Regions from separate parts of the Homo sapiens genome. Here regions 2 and 3 are each linked to region 1. The links are contacts of gene promoters, found by promoter capture Hi-C in blood cells and fetal thymus (Javierre and others, 2016). All regions are on one chromosome and are shown on one strand. The core of a region is centred on a gene start or on the middle of the fragment in contact, and the rest is flanking DNA. Distances in the headings are between cores, read along the strand shown.

The links. The method cuts DNA at HindIII sites, captures the fragments that hold promoters and counts their contacts. A CHiCAGO score of 5 or more calls a contact.
Region 2: a fragment that was not itself captured here is called in contact with the fragment with the promoter of STK32A in region 1 in 1 of 17 cell types (endothelial precursors); the score reaches 10.0 in endothelial precursors.
Region 3: a fragment that was not itself captured here is called in contact with the fragment with the promoter of STK32A in region 1 in 3 of 17 cell types (M2 macrophages, M1 macrophages and M0 macrophages); the score reaches 5.7 in M2 macrophages.

The regions. Positions count from the first base shown.
Region 1 is chr5:147,233,667-147,236,375 of GRCh38, reverse strand. It overlaps STK32A (serine/threonine kinase 32A), which reads right to left and starts at 1,350. Exons shown (of 13, transcript NM_001112724.2): 1 at 1,177-1,350. It overlaps STK32A-AS1 (STK32A antisense RNA 1), which reads left to right and starts at 1,517. Exons shown (of 4, transcript NR_147190.1): 1 at 1,517-1,663. The HindIII fragment of the contact is 14,744 bases long and covers 218-2,709 here.
Region 2 is chr5:147,594,013-147,596,721 of GRCh38, reverse strand. All of the region lies in intron 21 of JAKMIP2 (janus kinase and microtubule interacting protein 2), which reads left to right. It overlaps JAKMIP2-AS1 (JAKMIP2 antisense RNA 1), which reads right to left. Exons shown (of 4, transcript NR_038902.1): 2 at 2,245-2,362; 3 at 1,182-1,282. Among named protein-coding and RNA genes, the nearest start is that of JAKMIP2-AS1, 35 kb to the right of the region's middle. The HindIII fragment of the contact is 911 bases long and covers 868-1,778 here.
Region 3 is chr5:147,538,091-147,540,799 of GRCh38, reverse strand. No RefSeq gene overlaps it. Among named protein-coding and RNA genes, the nearest start is that of JAKMIP2-AS1, 21 kb to the left of the region's middle. The HindIII fragment of the contact is 4,823 bases long and covers 1-2,709 here.

The DNA of each region.
Region 1 (2,709 bases), core at 101-2,600:
CATTTTGAGATGTGAAGAGGACAGCTACCATCCATGAAAATGAAAATCCAAAGCATATGAAATGTAAAAGGAGGAGAAATTTGTCTTGCAGGGACACAGGGAGTTTTCAGAGTCTACCCTGACCTGGCCGATTATCAGATTATTAACTGGGAAATAGTTCCCTAATACCAACCTTTCATCTTTGGCCTGTAATTTGGGGGTTGTCAACAGGTAAGCTTCTCTAACCACCAAGCCTCCCTAGATAAAGAGGTGTGGTCTTCTAGGATTGGAAAACATAGGAGGTGATGCAAGAAAGTTGCAACTTTTGATTAAACATTTTAGGTTTCATTGTCACAGAATGTGCATAGACACAACTTATTTTGTTTGCATTTGAAAAACAGAACTTCTTAGTTTAAGAAATATTTTAAAAATAGGGGGCAAAAACATGAAAAATGCCCAAGTTAATAACACTCTCAGTTAACAATTGTTTATATTTGGTCATCTTTATATCATCATTTTTATTTTTAAAGCATTTTAGGGAAATATTATTTCCACCTTAATCCTAAAGTCCAATTGATTTCCCTTTCACACTTTCCAAAGACAGCCACAATCACGGATGTGATAAACATTTTACAGTCCCCCTTCTATGATTTTACAAACATGACAAGTGTCTTAAAATAAGTCACCTAAATGGCATGAGAGAGTGGATATATTTTGCATCTTGCTGTGTCTATCTGCCATCATACTTCTGAAATCTAGGTACAGGCATGCTGATCCCTACAGCTCTGATTTTAGCTTTTTAAGTGCTGCATAGCAGTCCGTTGTGTGAATACACCACATTTTATTTTTTAAGTCCTGGGGGAAAAAGTCCTTGTGGAGATGAAGCAATCATCAAAGGCAGCTAGGTTTTGCTTGTTTAGATGCTGGAGAACAAGCAGAAACACCTCCACTCACTTGTCTCAACCCAGCAAATATTTATTGAAGTCTGTCTGGGTCTGCACATGAGTCAGTGCCAGGCAGGGGAACCTGGATGGAGTGCAAAATAGCTGGAATTGGCCCTAGCCTGCATTTAGTTTTGTGAGTTATCTTGATCAGCAGCCTTTGTCTTCTCTTCTCCTTGCACTTCCTAGCTTCCCAACAGTACCCTTAGTATGCAGGTTTATTGTTATTATTCGTTAAATCTAGACCACCACTCACCTAGTCTCGATTCTTCCTTCATTCCTCCCATGAGGCTCGGAGCGATGCTTTCATCCAGGGAACAGGGACTAAGAGAAGAACTCCAAGAGCAAGGAGCAAGAAAAGGCACCTATCTGCCCGGAAGCGGCGGAGGCTGCGAGCGCCGGGCTGGGCTGGGCTGGGCTGCGCTGGACTGAGCTGGGCTGGGCTGGGGAGGCACCTGCGGCTGCCAAGGGGTCCGAGCGCCGCCCAGCGCACAGCTACCCCGGAGGGGCGGCTCCTTGGCCAGGGAAGGAGGCGGGATCTGCTTGCCAGCGGGCGTCTCCGCTTAGCGCTCTCTCCAGAAACCGCTGGGCAGTCTCCTGGGTGAGCGCCAGACGCCTGGGGTCCGTTTGCCGCCTGCTGAGACTAGACAAGGACCCCGGGAGGGCGACGTTGGGGGAGAGGGCTACGGATGGAGGTCCCGCCGCGCTTGGGCCGGGTCCGGAGCCACCAGGACGCACAGCGGGTACTATTACGCCCCATATCACGGGAACTGCCTCACCCCCCCTGCGATGTGGATCGTAATAGCCGGGGGGGGGGGGGGGGGAGAAGGGGGGTGCTATTACTCTCCATATCGCCGGGGGTGCCTCACCCCCCTGCGATGTGGATCCTAAAAGCCGGGGGGTTGAGGGGGAGAGGGCGGTGCTATTACTCCTCATATCGCGGGGGAAGCCTCACTCCCCTGCGATGTGGATCGTAATAGTCGGGGGGGAAAGGGGGACGCTATTAATCCCCATATGGCAGGAGGGTGCCTCACACCCCAGCGATGTGGCTCGTAGTAGCCAGGGAGGGAGGGGGGGTCCTATTACTCCCCATATGGCGGGGTGTGCCTCACCCTCTTGCTATATGGGAATTAATAGCATTCTCTCCCCTCTTGGACATTAGAAACAATTTCACAGTGTGTGTGTACACAGCCTGCGATATTGAAACTAACAGCATCCTATCCACCTCCGGTTATTAGGAACAATATCACAAAATGGTGTACACTCTTTGCGAGACTTGGAGTTCTATCGTGCTGTGTTTCCCTGAATATTCGTAGAAATGTGACAGCGTGGGTGTACACCCACTACTATATTGGGAGTAACTTCGTACTCCACCCCCTGGAAATTAGGAGAAATATCACGGAAGGGGTGTAAAGCCACTGCGATATTTGAAATAATATCATGCCCTCACCCACTAGTTATTAGGAACAATATCACAGGACGGTGTATACCTTCTACAGTATTGGGAGTAATATCATCATCTCTTTCTTTAGATATTAGGAACAATATCAAAGGGGGTTGCACACCCAGTGTATTATTGGAAGTAATATCATTCTCTCTTCTTCTAGATTTTAGGAATCATATCACAGGCAGGGTGTACCACCCTTATTATATTAAAAGTAATGTTATCTCCTTTCGACCTGGATATTAAGAACAATAAGAAATGCGTTCTGTACATCCTTTGAATATTGGTAGTAATACCATCTTTTCCCTTCCTGGATTTAAGAAACAATATGACTTGTGGGGTGTC
Region 2 (2,709 bases), core at 74-2,573, 360 kb before region 1:
AAATTGTACTAATAAAGCATAGGGTAGGAGTTATGTTTTATTCATCTTTGTATCTTTAGTGTCTATAACAGTGCCTTATCTATCCTAGGTGCAGAATAAATTTCAGATTGACAGATGAACTGAGAGGCAGATGGATGAATGAATAGCTGGGAAAATGAATATGAAAGCAGATTTGGGATATGTTAGATCAGAACCATGAATAGAGTTGTCGTATCTTTCAAAGATAACTCATATTCAATTTGTTTTTTTATATACCATTTGAAGACTACCTTAAAGAATGCATTGACAAAGGAAAGAGGACATAAACAAATATATTATCCCCTCCTCCACAGCTGAAGTAGCCCACTAACTGGGCTCAGTGCTTCCACTATAGACATTCTTATAACTCATTCTCCACACAGCAGTTAGAGTGAGTTTTAGAAAGGCAAACCTTACCTTGACCCCCATCCTAGGAAAATATCACTGTGTTAGGATCAAGTTCCTTCAACCAATCTATTGATAACAAGTTAAAAAAAAAAAAAGATCAAATTTGAATTTTTTAACTTGGCCAACAAAGCCCTGCATGGTCTAACCACACGGGCAATCTCTCAGGCTTCCTGTTGCTCCAGTTTCCCTTAATGAACCATGTGCCTTCCTGCCTTCCACAGGGTTTGCCCAAGCTGACTTGGTGCACAGAATGCTTCCCTTCTGCTTTAACTAGTAAACACCTACTACTCACCTATCCTTCGGATCTCAGTTCAGTTGTGATTCCCACAAGGGCATCTTTCTTGACTTCCTTTCTGAACAAATTTTACATACATTGGGGAAATATATATATAAATACACATTTTTTTAATTAATGTCACTCTTTCTCATTGTAAATAAGCTTGATGCAGATAATGACCATATAATTTTGTTCAACCTTGTATACCAAATACCTAGCACATAACCAACAGTGTCTAGCACATAGTCAACAATCAATAAATACTTTTAAAATAATATTAATGATATTTCAATAAGGAAGGAGAGTACAACTTGCTTTACAGTTCAAAAGGTACATTTATATTTATTATTTTATGTAATACTTACAACAATTCTGCATAATGGAGACCATTATAACTCTCTGTCTTAGTCCATTTGTGCTATTATAACAAAATACCTGAGACTAGGTAATTTATGAGTAATAGTAATGTATTGCTCACCACTCTGGAGGCTGGAAATTGAAGATCGAGGCACCAGCAGGTTTGGTGTCTGGTGAGGGCCTGGTGTCTACTTCCAAGATGGCGCCTTGTTGTTGCATCCCCTGGAGGGGGCAAAGCTGTGTCACAGGACAGAAGGAACAGAGGGGCAAAAGAGCCTAAGTTAGTTCTCTCCAGCTCTTTCATAAGGCACTAATCCCTCATCCATTCTGCACTCATGGCCTAATAACCTCCTAAAAGCCTCACCTGTTAATACTCTTGCACTGGGGATTAACTTTCAGCATGAATTTTGGAGGGGACAAAAACATTCAAAATATAGCACTCTCCAAACGTTAATTTTCTAATATAAAAAATTAGCAAGTAATAGCACCCATTATTTTTCTGAGGATTGAGTAATATTATACAGGTAAAGCAACTAGTTTAGTAGTTGGCACATAGAAAGGCTCATTAAAGGTCAAGTCTGTAGACATACCAAGCATTCTGTCTTGAATCATGCCTTTCAAGATGTGCTTCCATCTTCTGGGACCACATTTCCCACATCACCATTAAATGGTTGATACCCATTCATCCTTCCCGTCTCAGTGGAAAATCAGGGAAGCTTTCCCTGATCCTCCAGCTTCAGTTACATTTCATACAATATTATTATGTCTTCCCTACCAGGATTTTTATGGACCAATTATTTAATAATCTTCAGTCTCAGTGTACTCATCTGTATTGTGGAGGTAATATTAATAGCTACCATTTATTGAATACTTTATGACAAATTGCATATAAAGGGTGAGGAGTGGAAGGTGTCAGAGATGGCCCTTGTGTTCCTAGATGGTGTAACTGGTTAAACGGTGGTGCCCTTACAGATGCTACAACCACAAGTCAGAAGCCACATCACCGTACTCAAGACTTGGAGTTTGTGGCATTAGCTGGGCACAGTGGCTCTGTAATCACAGCATTTTGAGAGGCTGAGGCAGGTGGATCACTTGAGCCCAGGAGTTTAAGACCAGCCTGGGAAACATGGTGAAATCCCATCTCTACAAAAGTACAAAAACTAGCTGGGTATGGGGGCACATACCTGTAGTACCAGCTACTTGGGAGGCTGAAGTGCAAGGATGGCTTAAGCCCCAGAGGTCGATGCTGCAGTGAGACAAGATTGCACCACTGTACTCCATCCTGAGCAACAAAGCAAGACCCTGTATCAAAAAGAAAAAAAAAGAATTTGTAGCATGCAGTAAAGTCTCAAAAATGATAGTGGCAATTGCTGTTTTCCACAGATGAGGAAACTAAATTGTAGCACTGTTATGCAACCTGTTAAAAAGAACTCCTGTTACCCACTGGGTAACTGCAATAACTCAGAATGCTAATTTGAATAAATCTGGCTTCACTATAGAAATAATAGTTCCTTTTACAAGTACTTCTCAATTCATAGAAACTTAACATTCCAGGAGACTGCCTGGACTGCCTGTAAGTCCATTGGTTTTTAAAACCAACATGTGTTTACTCAAATGAGGGGTTTTACCTCGGTTGTGATAGGTGGAAA
Region 3 (2,709 bases), core at 145-2,644, 300 kb before region 1:
TTGAATAAAGATCATCAGTTCACTCATTGATTCAACAAATATGTTTGGAGTGCCTACCTTGTTAGATCTATCTCTTGTCTGTACCTGAACAATTCTACTGTCCCATCAATAAATAAGTGGTTTGTGTCTACCTAATTTCTTAAGGAATGAGAAGGCTGGGCTTTATATCCCCATATCATCAGTCACTGGATGTGAGCTACCTTGAGTGGGGTGGGAAACCTTGGATGAGGTGGCCTACATAAGCTGAGGCATTTCCTGAAAGAGACTGACAGCTGAGGGCCAACTGTCAGCCATACTCCCAGCAACTGAGACTATATATATTTTTTGGGTGGGGGGCGGGTGTCAGGATTTTGCTCTGTCACCCAGGCTGGCATGCAGTGGCAAGGTCATAGCTCACTGCAACCTTGAACTCCTGGGTTCAAGGGATCCTCCCCGATCAGCCTTCAGAGCTGCTGGGACTACAGACACATGCCATTGCACTCAGCTATTTAAAAACAAAAATTCGTAGATATGGGATCTGGCTTTGTTGCTCAGGCGGGTCTCAAACTCCTTGGCTCAATTGATCCCCTGCTCCAGCTTCCCAAAATGCTGGGATTACAGGCATCTGCCACTATGCCTGACCTGCTCTTCATTTTTAAAGTGGGATCTGATTGATAAATCACAGTGTTTGCCACAAACTTCATGATAGATCCCAAGAGAGAACTACTCAACTAAGCCTAGTCAACCCACAGAAATATGAGAAGTAGCAATAAATTGTTATATGTAAGGCTGAGAGGGAGGGCAGTGGTACTAAACATCTATCTGTGAATACCAGAACAGAAGATAGAACAACTGAGCTTTAGGACACCTTGACATTAAGAGGTTAGGGAGAAGAGTAGGAGCCAGCTGGAAGACTGAGAAGGAGCAACCAGTAAAGTAGGGGATAAAGAAGTTAGGCCAGGCATGGTGGCTTATGCCTATAATCCTAGCACTTTGGGAGGCTGGGGCAGGTGGGTTATTTGAGGTCAGGAGTTTGAGACCAGCCTGGTCAACATGGTGAAACCCCGTCTCTACTAAAAATACAAAAATTAGCTGGGCGGTAATGGCGTATGCCTGTAATCCCAGTTACTCGGGAGGCTGAGGCAGGAGAATCGCTTGAGCCTGGGAGGCAGAGGTTGCGGTGAACCGAGATCATGCCACTGAACTCCAGTCTGGGCAAGAGAGTGAGACCCTGTCTCAAAAAACAAACAAAACAAACAAACAAAAGAAGTTGGATGTGTCAGACTTGGACCTGTCGACCCTCAACCTATTCCTCATCTTTTCCCCACTGTGGTCTGTTCTGCAGTGGATTGACACCTGCAGGCTGCTTTTCCAAGACTCTCCTGTTAGCTGGTTTCCAGCTGGGATTAGTTTACTGAGGGCAGTGACTAGAAATAGGAGAGAAAAAGCAAAGGATAAACCAGGGGCTATATCCCCCTCTCTGGTATAGTATCTCTAATAGTAGTTGTATCTCTTCCCTGGCTCCAGCTTCTGCCAGCCAAACCATGCATAGTTCCAGCTTCTGATGAGTCACCCCAGCCCATGGACTCTGCTACCAGCTTCTCTCGTCTTTATTCCTCCAGCCCAAGTTGGTATTGTGTTTCTGCTGTTGCCAATGTCTGCCTCACTATGTCCCATTTGGCTTTTTAGCTCTTTTGTCATCTGTGTCCTCAAGACCCTGCATTAAGTTCCCTCTGGTCAAATACTAAGAATAGTTTCTGGGTTTGTTGTTGTTGTTGTTGTTTTTTGAGATGGGCTCTCACTCTGTCACCCAGGCTGGAGTGTAGTGGTTCAATGACACGATCTCAGCTCACTGCAACCTCCGCCTCTCAGGTTCAAGCAATCCTCCTGCCTCGGCCTCCCAAGTAGCTAGGACTACAGGTGCCCGCCACCATGCCTGGCTAATTTTTGTATTTTTAATAGACAGAGGGTTTCACCATGTTGCCCAGGCTGGTCTGGAACTCCTGACCTCAGGTGATTCACCTGCCTCGGCCTCCCAAAGTGCTGGGATTACAGGCATGAGCCACCACGAGCAGCAGTTTCCATTTTCTTGATTAGGTCTTGAAAACCAAGTGAAGGAAGTATATCCAGGAAGAACATGTAATTAACTATGCCAAATGCTATTAAGAGGTTGAGAGCTGAGAATTGATTATTGGATTTAACAAAATGGAGGTCATTGATGACATGATCGAAGCAGCTTCAATGGAGTGGTGAGCAAGTGTAGGACAGATTAGATTAATCAGGAATTGCCTCTAGAGCTGCTTTAGGGCCAATTGCCCAAAGGACTGACACAGAGAAAACAGAATGAACATGGGAAGAATGTGGGAAAATAACCACAACATCCACTCCCACCAGGAGGGAGGCAGAGACTAGGGTCACAAGAGGAAATTCATTTAGGTGGAAAGAGCTGGAGATCAAAGCCAGAGCCTTGTAGTGAATGAACTCAAGGACTTAGGTACATGACAGAAACACATGCCAAAGCAGAGAGTTAAAACTGTTTCAAAGAAATTCAGAAACTGTGGTTAAAGCACCAGAAAACTCAGAATCCTTTTAGGGAACAGTGACTTTCTGCTTTCCAAACTTCATTTTGGTCATTGGACAAACCAATTAATAGTGTAATTGTGGGCAAGTTTATTGCAAAAAGTCAGTATAAGCTGATAAAATATGTTTACTTGCAATAAACTTTAGAAT